Linked DNA regions of Homo sapiens: region 2 is linked to region 1. The links are contacts of gene promoters, found by promoter capture Hi-C in human tissues and cell types (Jung and others, 2019). All regions are on one chromosome and are shown on one strand. The core of a region is centred on a gene start or on the middle of the fragment in contact, and the rest is flanking DNA. Distances in the headings are between cores, read along the strand shown.

Region 1 (7,142 bases), core at 2,727-5,226:
AACACTTGAGCTGTACTTTCTTCACCTACTTTAGCAATTCATACAGATTAGTTTTGAGCCATGTATTTAGATGTGGTGTCTTGCAACATATATATACACATATGTGCATATATATGTGTATATGTACAGATGTGTATACATGCGTATATATACAGATGTGTATATATGTGCATATGTGCATATATACAGATGTGTATATATGTGCATGTATACATGTGTGTATATGTGCATGTATACATGTGTGTATATGTTGCATGTATACGTGTGTATATGTGCATGTATACATATGTGTGTATATGTGCATGTATACATATGTGTACATATGTATATGTGTATATATATATGTATATTTACGTATATGTGTATACATGTGTATATATACGTATGTGTATACATGTGACTATATACGTATATGTGTATATATGTGTATATATGCGTATATGTGTATGCATGTGTATATATGAGTATATGTGTATGCGTGTGTATATATGCGTATATGTGTATACATGTGTATATGTGTGTATATATGTGTATATGTGTATATATGTGTATATGTGTGTATATAAGTGTGTATATACATATATGCGTATATGTGTGTATATACATATATGCGTATATATGTGTGTATGTACATATATGCGTATATATGTGTGTATGTACATATGTGTGTATATGTGTGTATGTACATATGTGTATATGTGTGTATGTACACATATGTGTATATATGTGTATGTACATATATGTGTATATGTGTGTATGTACATATATGTGTATATGTGTGTGTACATATATGTGTATATGTGTGTGTACATATATGTGTATATATGTGTGTATATATACATATATGTGTGTATATATGTGTATATATACATATATATGTGTGTATATATATATTGCTGTTTAGTACTGATTTACACTTTTAAAGATGCCTGTTTAGCTGTTAACATTCTTTATATTTCTGCTTTCAGAATATAATTTATATGTCTGGTAGTTTTCCTTTTCATCTGTCAAAATCAAGCATGGATAAATATTCTATTTAAAGAGACACATAGATCAATGCCTGTGGCTTTGAAATTTTTTAAACTATACATATTTCAAAATTACTCAAGGCAGAATTTTTTAAATAGCTTGGATAGTAGCTGAATGTCATTATATTTCATTAAGTTTTATCAAGTGGCATGCTATTGCGTGTTTACCCACCTAAATTTAGAAAGGAAGCTGATTGTAGTAATGACAGACAGGGATATGCCATGTATGTTTTGCTTTCCAACTTTTATAGATGTTCACAGTAACCACAATAAGGCATTGTCATCATGATCCAAGGACATAATGGATATCAGTTTCTGACATAGCATATATTGTCCTTGAAAATTGCACTGACAAAATGAGGGGTCCAACAATACTTCAAATAATAAAGAATAGATCAAGGATATTCCTACAGATCTAGGATATATGAAAACTATTGTGGTTCTAATATCCTTCTTTAAAATATGTTTTGCCTTAGTATCCAAGAAGTAAGGAAAATATATTTGCAACATTTACAACTATATATTTATTTTATATATATATATATATATATATATATATATATATATATATACATCTCATATGGTAATAATTTGGATAAACAAGTAATTTATTGAAGAGATGTAGAAAACTTTTTTAAAAAAATAGTAAGTTAAACTTAAGTTTCTGTTTAGCTTGCTATATTTTTACATCAGTCTTTTATATAGAAAGTAAAAACTTATCAAGAGATTATATAATAAATTTGTTATTAGGTCAGTTTTGGTTTATTTATTTTCTTCTGTTCACTATTATATGTGTCCACTATCAAACTTCCCCATTTAATTATGGTCATAGATAAGCTGCATTGATTTTGTATAAAATCTGTCAGCTTGTGTAAAACACATCTTTTCTCAGTTCTAAAATGATACACATTAAATGCAGAACTTTCAACTTGTAGTTGGGTTGCAAATGATTTTTTTCAGATCCCCTTGTAGAAAGAAGTTGAAACACCAATAATTTACTTGTTTTAGAAATAAGATGAATGTCAGTCATCTTTATTCAACTTTGCATGGTCATTATGCTTTTCTTACTATATGAAATAATAGCTTTTCTTTTCTTTTACAGATTAAAAAAAAGTCCTTTATACCCTTATACTGAATATTGCAACACTTTGGTATTTTCATTTTAACTCTATTGTAAATGGAGAAATTATTAACCTGAAGTAAAGTGATTGAAGTAACCCTGAATAAAAGTTATTCAAAAGCTATTTCAGTGACACAATAGCAATGGATATATACAGCAAATTGACTCTGATACAATGCCAATGATCACATCTTTTCACTCTGAATTAGTGATCATGGATATTTTTAAAAATATGTGTTTGGTGCAAACTTTGCAAATACACATAAAAATACTGGATTTTCTAATCCCTGAAAGAAACTCTCTTCTTTCACCTCTCAGTCGTGTAAGAGTTAACTCTGTTTCCTACAAGGATGCAATCTGTAAGTTAGGTCTGGAAGGCAGCAAAGGCAACCTGGACTTGAAGTTAACACTTCTGTTGTCAAGGGTTACTGATTGGGGGAAGGGAAGGGGCTGTAAAGGGAAAGAGTTACGGAAATGAAGAGGGATTGTAGCACACACTACATAAATTCAAATGCTTTACATGTATTTGGAATAAGATCTCGAGTCTGTTGTATTTTTGCATTGTGTTTTCATTTATTTAGTTTACACATAGGTAGTGAATTTATAGGTTGGTTGATGTTAACCTTATCCAGAGTGGCCCTTTCCAACAATGTTCATTCAGTTGTACATTACATATATGTAATAATTTTGTAATTAAATTGGAATTTATCACAATTATTTACATCAAAGACAATAAAATTATGTTACTTCCTAAATTATAATATCAGTAAATATCGTATCTAGGATTTTGTGGAAAGTCTATGTCATTTTAGTTTAAATAAGGATTTCTCTTTTCCTCCACAAAATTAAAGGTCAAAGAAAACAGCATGTTTAAGACTTCAAATTAATATATATTAAGATTCAGCATTTAATATTCTAATTCTTAAAATAACTGGCTTTACCGATGATGAACTAAAGTGATTTTGCACACTATTACAATATTTCAAATTGCTAGTCACCACAGGTCGGCCTCACTTTAAATCTCCTTGTTATGCCAATTTGCATTACTAATGAACTTGCTAAGAGAGAAACTGTAAAAAGATAATGTAGCAATTAATAGTAAATGCTTGACATACTGTGACATTATAATACCTTTATGTTGATTTATATCTTTATGTCAATATTTACAAGGAAAATATTTTTGAATTTCTAATTTTGCGAAGTAAAAATGATGCTGACGCCATTGTCATTGATGGAATTTTTTCTGTAGCATTTGACTAATATAACCCGTGTTTTATAATTGGTAGACTCATATTTTAGCTTCTACTATCTACTACCCATGTAAGGTATTTTATTTGTAGTAGCTATGAATTGTAAATACAATTGGGTGTTGTGTGTACCTACGTGAAGTGCAGAAGTATTTGATTATATAAAATTTCCTGGATTTATATGAGAATAATGCATAATAGAGAGCAAAAGAGGGTTTTCCTGCCAAAAGTGTCTGTGTGAATTTTCCTTCGAAAATGTTCTTTTAAAATCCTTTGTATGATCAAAGCCACTCCACACAGACAATTAAAAGCAGCTATGGAATGATAGATCACATGACAGGAGTTAAATGTAAGGGTTTTTTTTTTTTTTTTTCCTCCCCCCTCGGTTAAACATCGCAGCAGGCATTACAATACCAGAGGTAACGAATCAATTAAATCCATTTTCCCCTCGGCGTCTCCAAAGCTGCGTGCCTAGTGTTGCTGTGTAGTTTAGACCGGAGCAGTAGGACCCAGGGGCCTCCGCAGCCACCAATAGAAGCGCACACTTGGACCTATTTGTATGCAATGCCTTCTGCTCTGCGCATTAATAGTAATACAGATAACGGGTTTGAAAGAATTCTCTACTGAAGAAGGATTGAATTTTTCCAGGGTGCTGATACAGAGAAGAAACCCGACTTCACTCTCTCCCTATTTCCCCACTCTTAGGTTTAAAAGTCTGTCACCTTTCGCTTGGTTTAAACTCGGAAAGGTCTCAGTGCACAGCAAAGTTGCAGGGCTGCGTCTGCACTACGGAGCCTCTAGATTGCTGAAAACAGTCTTATGGAAGGGTAAGTCTCGGAAATGGTTGCAAGGGAAGTGACAGCTGGCTTTTGATTTGTAAAAGGGGACACGCTGGGTTTTACACTAGTGGTTGTTGGAGTGCAGAATGGTTGCCGAGAGGACTCTGCAGTTTATCCAGAAATTGTGGCTGATGCGCCAGGGTGTTTTGGGGTAGAATCAAAAACCTTCAGGCTAAATCGGAAATTGCAGCCTTGCGATCGGGAGGGATTCAACAAGTTTTCCTGCAGGGATGCGATGTTTGTTTCTTCCTTGCCAGTTGTGCAGAGTGTCCGTTCCAGGTAGGCTGCGGCTGCTTAACAAAGAAGTTTTGGAATTTGTTTGTTGTGTGTGTGGCTGGGCTAACCCTTGTTGGAGTAGGTTTCGTGCCGCTTTTGGCTTCTTGGGGGCACACAGCGGAATTTGCTCTAGGGATGCGGCGAGCATCAGCGGTGTAGTGGGCTGGGGCCGGGCAACTTTGCAGCCTAATCTCAGTGCCGCTGACCGCACCGTTGTTCGTGATGTGAGCTGACTGAGGCATAGACACGGGCAGGCTGCAGGGAGCTTCCAAACTTTGAAAGCATTCTCCAGGAATGGATGCGCGTGGGGGCTTTGAAAATAAGCGTTACTAGGTGGATTTTGGTAAACTCTTGGCGGTATGTAGGCAGTGGGGACTTTTGACACTTGCATTTCCAACCTGCAGGATTTTGCTTGAAAACATGGTGCTGATGTGAAGACGAGAGCTTAAAGCTAAGCCAGCGGGGACTTTGAGGGAGGAAATGAGGGAGGGAAGGAGGAAGAATGAGAGAAGACAGATGAATGAAAAAGGTGCGTCCCATCTTTCACACACAAAAACCACACGAGTGGGACGAACCAGGAAGCGCTCCAGTTGGTGGCGTTTAGCTGGAAAACGTATTGCAGGGAGGTCCAGGAGCCTCTGCATTATTGATGAAACGCCGTGCCCTTCTGGGGCCCCTTCTTGCTCCTTCTCCCTGCCCCATCTTGCCAGCCCCGCTTCCATGAGCCTTCGGTTCCAGCGTTGGCGCGGGTGCGGCTGCGCGCGCGGCTGGGTCCCACAGCTCTGAGAACACAATGGGGAGAAGCAGGCGAGCCCTGCGGGCGGCCGATGCGGAAAACTCGGCGTGGCAACCCCACTGCTGCAGCCTGGGCTGCCGCTCCACCCGGGGCAGCGGCGCTGCAGAGACGGCTTCTGCCCAGTTGCCACGCGCCCTGAGGTCTCGGAGGACCGCGTGGAGGGCGCTCACACCTGGCCGCTAAAATCCTGGGATACCCTTCTAGGAGTCACTGTGTCCCACGCAGATGGGTGGGGTGGGGGAGACGGAATGCTAAGACATCCCACTCCTGCCTCGAGTCGGAGCTCCCACTACTCAAATATCCTTAGTGTGCACCCCAAGCATCTAGAGGACCTGCGCCCCCAAGAAAAAAGGACACGAAGGGGGAAAGAAGGGAAATGTTGATGAGGCTGCAAGAGGGGAAGGAAAACAAGCAATTTAGGGCAATTATGGTCAATGGTCAGGCTTTTCTGGGCTCTTTTAAGTGGATTGATTTAGAGGAGCTTTGAAATGCTGTCCCTGGCCTGTCTGCGGCACTAAAGGGGGCAGATTTCCAGACGCAGGAACTCACTGGAGGCTCCTTCTATAGATGAAGGGAGGAAAGGGCAGGGCAGGAGGCTCATTTCACAGGGTAGTTTAACCCTGACCTCAGCACCTCCCACCCTTTCACGCCCCGCCAAGGAGTGCCCCGACCTTGTAAACTCCTCTGTGTCATCTGCCCTGTGTAAGTGATTTTCATCAAGCTGTGTGTTACAGAGGCCTGTTAAGAGATGGTTGTCTGTTTCCAAGTAGTGGTGGGAGGTTGTTTAATTTGGAGGTTGCTTGTCAACCCGGGCTGAGCGCACAGAGGAAGGAGCGTAGATGCAGGACCCTATAGAATGGGCCACTTGGGGTTGTCAGTTACTTGAAGGCTACACATCAAAGGAAATATACTGATTGAGCACCTGGGGGAAGACAATGCCATTTCATTTTTTCCTCGCTTTCCATGTGCCTCCTTTACTGTGGTTGTTTGGGAACTAGGATATAATAATTACAAAAAAAAGTTGAAAATCCACTGATTTATTTGGAAGCCTCATAACTGGGTTTTCAGGCCCAAACTTGTATTCTCCTAGCAGCTATTATTTTGAAAGCCTCAGTCTGACACCTTAAAACCTGCTTCTCTACTATATCTTGAGGAGGCACTGGTAACTTTCAAAGGCAATCTGTAAGCATGCATCATGTTGATTTTGTTAAAGGGAAGAGGCAGTGTTGGTAGATGTTCCATCAATATTTGCCCTTCCAAAATCGGCCCCCACCCCCCAAAAAAAGGAAGAGGAAGCAGCAGCAGCTCGGAGCAGATATCCAGTTGGTAAGATGACTTTGTTTCTTATGGACCTATACCTCTCCCATGAGGGATAAAAATTAGGATATCTAAGGAGTGGGGGCATTCACCTTATATTGTTGCCACGGTTTTTGGACTTCCTTTAGCCTTTTCGCACATATCTTCCTGCTCCATGCCTCTTCCAATTTAGCCCTGTAGGAGCTGCAGAATTGAAGCACAATGACACAGCTGCAGATCCCTGGTGGAGCCTTGCTTCAGAAAACAGCTGTTAATCACATGTTTGTTGTATTTTCCTATTTACTTCCTTTTACTTCCCTTCGCTTCCCTTAGCCTGTCCTTGAACCAGTGTTACCATCTTCTGGGCTCTACTCTATGAAGGTTAGTGATTTCCAGTGATATAGCACTGAGCTGAGCATGGGAGGAGGGGAGAGACTCAACAGCTGCCTAGGGAGTCCCAAAGGTTTAATGCCAACTTTCTCTTACCCTATACTGCACAAAATAAAGAACAAATACCCTAATATCTCCCCAAAGAGAACT
Region 2 (7,142 bases), core at 2,099-4,598, 73 kb before region 1:
AGATAGATAGATAGATAGATAGACAAAGTTCTTACATTTTTATCATGGTAGCTTGCCCTTGTGTGTGATTGTGTAACATAAAAAATATAAAATGAAAGCTACATTTCTCTGGACTCTTGATTGGTACTTTTGTCCAAACCTCTGCTGTCTTGAACAAGTGCTGTAATATTCACGAAATATCTGTATGGCAGTTATTTCGACCTCCTTTTAGTTTCTTGATTGTTTGAAAATCCAACATTTCATTTACATGTTAGTTTACATTACATTCACAGTTCTCCAGTGCTCTGACATATTCATAGACTCTTCTCCAAGCTAAACGCTATCCTCTTCCTATGTCATGAAGCATCTTCGGTAGACCTAGAGGTGTCTAGTTTATGCATACTTATGTATTAAAATGTAAATTCAATGTCTCTGTGAATATTGCTTGAATTAACTAAATTAAAAGCAATTGCCTCACACATTGTTCTTAAGTGTGTGTGTGTGTTTTTAAATCAATGAGATTATAATTTATTACACAAAATAGGAAAATAAGTTATATATGTGTTAGGAAAGTAAAATTAATTTGGGGATTTTTGAATCTGATTGTATGTCAACTATATTTTTTTTTCTTTCCATGCTGTCTGTTTTATCTAGAGTCATGAGTTAAGAATTAGCACCATCATATTTTTTTTGGCAACAAAATTTCCTTTTACCCTCTAGGTCCTATTCATCATTTTAAAAAACACACTTACTATAACCTTTATCTTGGCTCATTTCCCATACTGATGTATCCTCTCTACATTGATTCAGAAATTACTTATGTTTTGTATTTGATGGTTATCACTGCCAACCCCATTAGTTATTGCCAATTTAAAATGCTATGGTATAAAGCATACATGCCACTTTTCCCAAGGTCAGGGCTGGTATTAGATCTATTTGGCCAAGTACCTATCTGGTATTATTGGTGATATTATAAACTTGCAATAATTCAGGCTATTGAGTTTCTGTGTATCGGGTTGCCTGTGTATTGAGTTGCCAATACACAGGATAAATTCATTTATGCTCCTATTATTTCTGATAATGTCGAAATTAAATTTAATTCTAGGGTGTTTTTAATTTGCCCTTTAAGGATGTATAGTTGCTTGAAATTTATTACATCTTTCAAAGTTATTAAAGAGCTCATCTAGACACATGCTTTTAAAAAAATAACCATTTGCACTTTAAAATTGCAGAGCATCAAATAAATGTACTTGTAGGCAAAGGTCTACTCCACCTCTAAGATTCTATAGCTAATACTCTGGAGAAATTGCAATAACATTTCAAAGGAAATGCATTTTAAACATAGCATTGATAATTTTAGGATGATTTAAAATAGTGTTTAATATAATGCCTATCTGGGGTACTCTAAGTATGTTTTACCTACATATTTGTTATATAAATGCACACGTAACTCTACTTTTTGAAGAATACAGAATTTCTTTTCTGCGTTTTTGCTTGCCTTCTTTTCACCTTACCTCACCCTTCTTTTCAGCCCATATTACTTTTTAAAAGAGTTCTTAGGTATGTGTTCCCATATTTTTCTCTAAGCCTACATTATTTTACACAAATATATAGATATACCTTTACAAATCATATATACATACCATGAATAGATGTGTGTGAATATTGTATTAATGTATACGATTCCACATAAAAAAATCTTTACATTTTCTCCTTAAAATGGGAGCATATTTGTACACATTCTATTGCAACTAGCTTTCTCTACTTAATATTTTATGGATATATCTTCATGTTAATAGATTCCAAAATTATTATTTTTACTGACTGCATAATATATCAATTTGCAGCTATGCCATGATTTTTTCAACTTTTCACATGCTTTGGACATTCCCATTTTTGTAGATTGTTGCCAATAAAAAGAATGCTGCATTAAACATTCTTGTGTCTATATTCTCTGCTACTGGTGGATATTTTTCTAAGACAGGTTGATTTCCTTAGAAGAATGAATTTGCTTTATTGAAGACTATACGAATAATGACAAATTGTTTTCCAGAGAGTTGTTGTATTAGTCCATTTTCAGACTGCTATAAAGAATACATGGGATTGGATAATTTATAAATAAAAGAGATTTAATTGACTCACAGTTCTGCATAACTAGTGAGGCCTCCAGGAAACTTTCAATCATGGCAGAAGGCGAAGGGGAAGCAAGGCACATCTTACATGGCAGCAGGAGAGAGAGAGAGAGAGAGAGAGGAAGAAGAAGAAGAAGAAGAAGAAGAAGGAGAAGGAGAAGAGGAGGAGGAGGAAGAGAAAGAGGAAGAGGAAGAAGGAGGAAGAGGAACTGCCACAAACTTTACAACCATCAGCTCTCCTGAGAACTCAGTCACTATCATGAGAAAAGCATGGGGGAAACCGCTCCAATGATCCAATTACCTCCCACCAGATCCCTCCTTCAACACATGAGGATTACAATTACAATTCAATATGAGATTTGGGTGGAGACACAGAGCCAAACCATATCAGTAGCTATCCAGTAGCACCAGCAATATGTCAAAGTATTGTTTTCTTTAAGCTCTGGTAGAAATAGGGTGCAGTCGGCCTTTTGTTTTTTACAGTAAAAGAACATGATTTATAATGAAATTGACCATAGCTTTACATATATTTATTGAGTGTTTGTATTTAATTTTCTGGAAAAATCTATTTTATAAGCATCAACCATTTTTGTATTAGCTTATTATGCCTTTTGTCAAGGCATAATAAGCTTTATAAGATCTCCTTACCTATTATAAGTTTTAATCTACTCAGACAATGTCCATGTAGGTTGTTAATTATAATAATGCATTTATAAGGCAGAACCTAAAATATTCTAACACAATTAAATGAAAAAAGTAATAGCACATTTGCTTATAGTTACAATCAATGTAATAAGATTTGACGGTGGCTAACTAAAATTTTGAAAAATTATTTATTAGTTTTCTGTTTGTTATTTTAATAAATGTACCAAAATTTCAGATAAAGTGAGACACTACCAGCCACCAATGTGTGACTCTTACTTCCATGTCCCAATCTTACTATCCAAGAGGGTAAACAACAACAACAACAAATAGAACCTTCCATTTCAAGGTGAAATGTCAGTTAATGTTTCTGAAACCCCTCTATTGCCAAACCTCTAAAAATGCTGGATAAAACAATTCAAAGCAACCATTCAAAATTGGCTTGCTGGCAAGCAGGCAGGGAAAGTCTCAGAGACCTAAACAAATAAGAAAACCCAAATCCAGGGGTACGAGTGCTCAAGCAGGCAGCTGTCAATTTCCAGCAAGCCAAGCTTCAGATTTTAATGGGCCATTTTTGGGGAATGCGAAAAAGCCAGGAAACAAAAAACTTTATATCAGAGAACTCCTGAGTAAAACAAAATACTCCAAATTTGATATGAACAATTATTATTTTTTGATCCACTTTGTCACAAAAGAAAACTTGTTTAACTGGACCTTGACTCTGACAGGGATAAGATAGGGAAAAGGAAAATTTCACTTAAAATTTCCCACCCAAATGATGACCTCATAGAACTATTAAAAATTAATTTGGAATTGGAATATTTGCTATTAAATTGTATGACTAGTTAGTGTGAATTTAAACTTAGTTCAAAATATCCATAAGCCTCAGGTTACTCATCTCTTACATAAGAAAAATGCTCTTTTTCTCACAAACAATCATTTACTTCCATTTATAAATAAGGTATGAAATGTAAAAGTCCCAAAGCTTCCAAAGTTTCCAAAGAAACTAAGTGAAAAATTATGTATGTATTCATACATATACCTATATTTTGAGTCACTGTTTTTATTTTTATCCATGATATTTATGCTCACAGTTTGTATACCTTTTATTTTTATATAATGTTTAATTTACAGAAAATTTTCAAGGCTACTAGTACAAAGAGCTATGATATATCCTTTATTAGGATTCACCAGATACTAATATTTTTTATTTATTTAGATTTGTTCTCTCTCTCTCTCTGTCTCTCTCTCTCTCATCCCCTCATCAATGGTTGATATGGTTTGGCTGTGTCCCCACCCAAATCTCATTTTGAATTATAGTTCCCACAATCCACATCTGTCGTGGGAAGGACCAGGTGGAGATAATTTAATCATGGGGGCGGTTTTCCCCACCCTGTTCTCATGATAGTGAATTAGGTCTCACAAGATCTGATGATTTTATAAGGGCTTTTCTCCCTTTGCTCGACTCTCATTCTCTCTCCTGCCACCCTGTGAATAGATGCCTTCTGCCATGATTGTAATTTTTCTGAGGCCTCCCCAGTCATGAGGAATTGTGAGCCAATTAAACTTTTTTCCTTTATAAATTACCAAATCCCTGGCAGTTCTTTATAGTAGTGTGAAAACAGACTAATACAATGGTCTATATATTTTTTCTACCTTCTCAATTATTTTAGAATAACTAGTAGATATTATGATGATTTAAATCTAATTAACTTAGCATGCACTTAGTTTAAACAAGGGCATTACATTGTCTTACTGAAGTTTATTAACAAACAGAAAATTTAACCTTGATACAATGCTATTATATAACTCAAATTTTCAGTTTAAATTTTTAAATTGTCTTTGATAAATATTTGTTTCTACTCCCAAATACAATCCAGAGTAATATCACATTTAAGATACATGTCTCTTTTGTCTATTTTCACCTGTATCATCAGATTTTTATTGTCTTTTACGTTATTAACTTTTTTTAAAAGTACGGTTAGATTTTAGAAGGCACTTCAATTTGTTTTTTTCTTCTGTTTCACCATGATTAGATTCAGATTATGCATCTCAGAAGAAACACCACAGAAGTAATGTTGTATTTTCCTCCATACATCAAATCAGGAGGTAAGTACTTTTGGCTTGTACCAGTATTGATAATGTTAACTTTAATCAATTACATATGATAGTGTCTGCCAAACTTCTCTACTCTAAGATGTCTGTTTCCTCTTTGTAATTAATAAATAATTTGTGGGGAGGCTTTCAGACTATGACAATATCTCCTCTCTCATCATATTCTCACCCATTAGTATTGCATCTGTTGCTAACTCTTGCCAGAATCAATTTCTATAATGATAATAAAAGGTGATTTTCTAACTCCATAATTCTACTTAAGTTTATTAATTGTCATGTTACTCTAACGTAAAGCTTTCTTCATGCCTCTATTTATTTATTCATTTCTGTACTTACATCAGTATTAACTAATAGATTATTATTTTATTCAGTGGGTAATAACCTGTTACTATCATTATTTAATTGTTCAAATTGATCTACAGTTGGCTAGTGAGAGACTATATCAGTTCATTTTGTATTTTCATTGTTTAATTGTTCAAATTGATCTATATTTGGCTAGTGAGAGACTGCATCAGTTCCTTTTGTATTTTCTATAACAGAATACCTGAAACTGCATAATTTATACAGAAAATGAATTTACTTCTCAGTTATGGATGCCAAGAAGTCCAAAGTTGAGGGCTGCATCTGGTGAGAGGCTTCTTGCTGATAGGGGCTCTCTGAAGAGTCCTGCGGCAGCACAAGCATCACATGGTGGGATGGCTGAGCAGGCTACTGTGTTCAGGTCTCTCTTTCTCTTCTGACAAAGCCACCCATTCTCCTCCCATGATATCCATCAATCCATTAACCCCAAAATTCCTTAATCCATTAATCCATGGATGGATTAATCCAATCACCTTTTAAAGGTCCACCTTTCAATACTGCCACATTGAGGATTGTATTTCCAACATATGAAATTTGGGGGACACATTCAAAGCGTAGTAGAGCCCATTCAAGCTAATTACCATGTTCTTTGACAGGTTTCCAGCACTTTTACTTTCTGGCATAATTGTTGGCATATCATATCAGGCTCATCTTGTCTTTCTTCTTCCTTAGTGCTGGAAACAGTCATTTCTCCAAGAAGTCCTCATTGCCTTAAGTGAACATCAGGTGTGTTCATCACTATTGGTGTGCCCCTGCTTTGAAGCTCTTGTAGTGGACATAGCTAGGAAATTATTCACATGGACACACACACACACACACACATATTGGTATTAGGCAGATGCAGATATAGATGACATATAGCTAAATATGTACTATGAGTTCAAAAGCTCATCCTGGTAAAGCGCACAGCAATCCAAAAGCACAGGATTCATTTTAGTCTTTTTTTTTAAGTTTTTTTTTTAATTTTTATTTTTTATTTATTATTATTATACTTTAAGTTTTAGGGTACATGTGCACAATGTGCAGGTTAGTTACATATGTATACATGTGCCATGCTGGTGCACTGCACCCACTAACTCGTCATCTAGCATTAGGTACATCTCCCAATGCTATCCCTCCCCCCTCCCCCCAACCCACAACAGTCCCCAGAGTGTGATGTTCCCCTTCCTGTGTCCATGTGTTCTCATTGTTCAATTCCCACCTAAGAGTGAGAATATGCGATGTTTGGTTTTTTGTTCTTGCGATAGTTTACTGAGAATGATGATTTCCAATTTCATCCATGTCCCTACAAAGGACATGAACTCATCATTTTTTATGGCTGCATAGTATTCCATGGTGTATATGTGCCACATTTTCTTAATCCAGTCTATCATTGTTGGACATTTTAGTCTTTGCTGTGTAAATCTTCCTCAACAGGGAGAGCCTAGCTTCCATTATGTTCAATATATTTTACTTATGTACTCAATTACAGAATATATAGAAAATACTGTGAGAATTATTAACGATTCCCACTGCAAGCTTTTTAAAAGCCTGCATAATTTACTAAGATTAGTTCTGTTTTCTCATTATCAGTGTGGTGATGTTTCATTGAAAATAAAGCTATTCTGTTTGTAAACAATTTTATTTTTTAAACACATAGTTTTTGGTTTCATTTATTGAGCAGTGAAAATATTAACATACCACCAAAGTCAAAACTTCATAAAAGGATGTACTTAGTCATTTATCACTATCCCATTCTGTCCATCCTATTCCCATCCATATCCTATAATCATTATTATATATTTTCTTATATTCAGAAGCCATTTTCATATATTTTGATAAATGTTCTGCTTATAGTTTTTGTCTGTTTGTTTTGGGATTTTTTTCCTTCAAATTTTAAGAGTACCTAATATGTTAGGAGTATTAGCCTTTTAT

Evidence for each region. The method cuts DNA at HindIII sites, captures the fragments that hold promoters and counts their contacts. A contact is called where the count stands out against the background at its distance.
Region 2: a fragment that was not itself captured here is called in contact with the fragment with the promoter of ROBO1 in region 1 in 2 of the 25 tissues and cell types used here (dorsolateral prefrontal cortex and mesendoderm cells).

The regions. Positions count from the first base shown.
Region 1 is chr3:79,764,832-79,771,973 of GRCh38, reverse strand. It overlaps ROBO1 (roundabout guidance receptor 1), which reads left to right and starts at 3,976. Exons shown (of 31, transcript NM_002941.4): 1 at 3,976-4,222. The HindIII fragment of the contact is 15,501 bases long and covers 1-7,142 here.
Region 2 is chr3:79,836,949-79,844,090 of GRCh38, reverse strand. No RefSeq gene overlaps it. Among named protein-coding and RNA genes, the nearest start is that of ROBO1, 73 kb to the right of the region's middle. The HindIII fragment of the contact is 5,213 bases long and covers 742-5,954 here.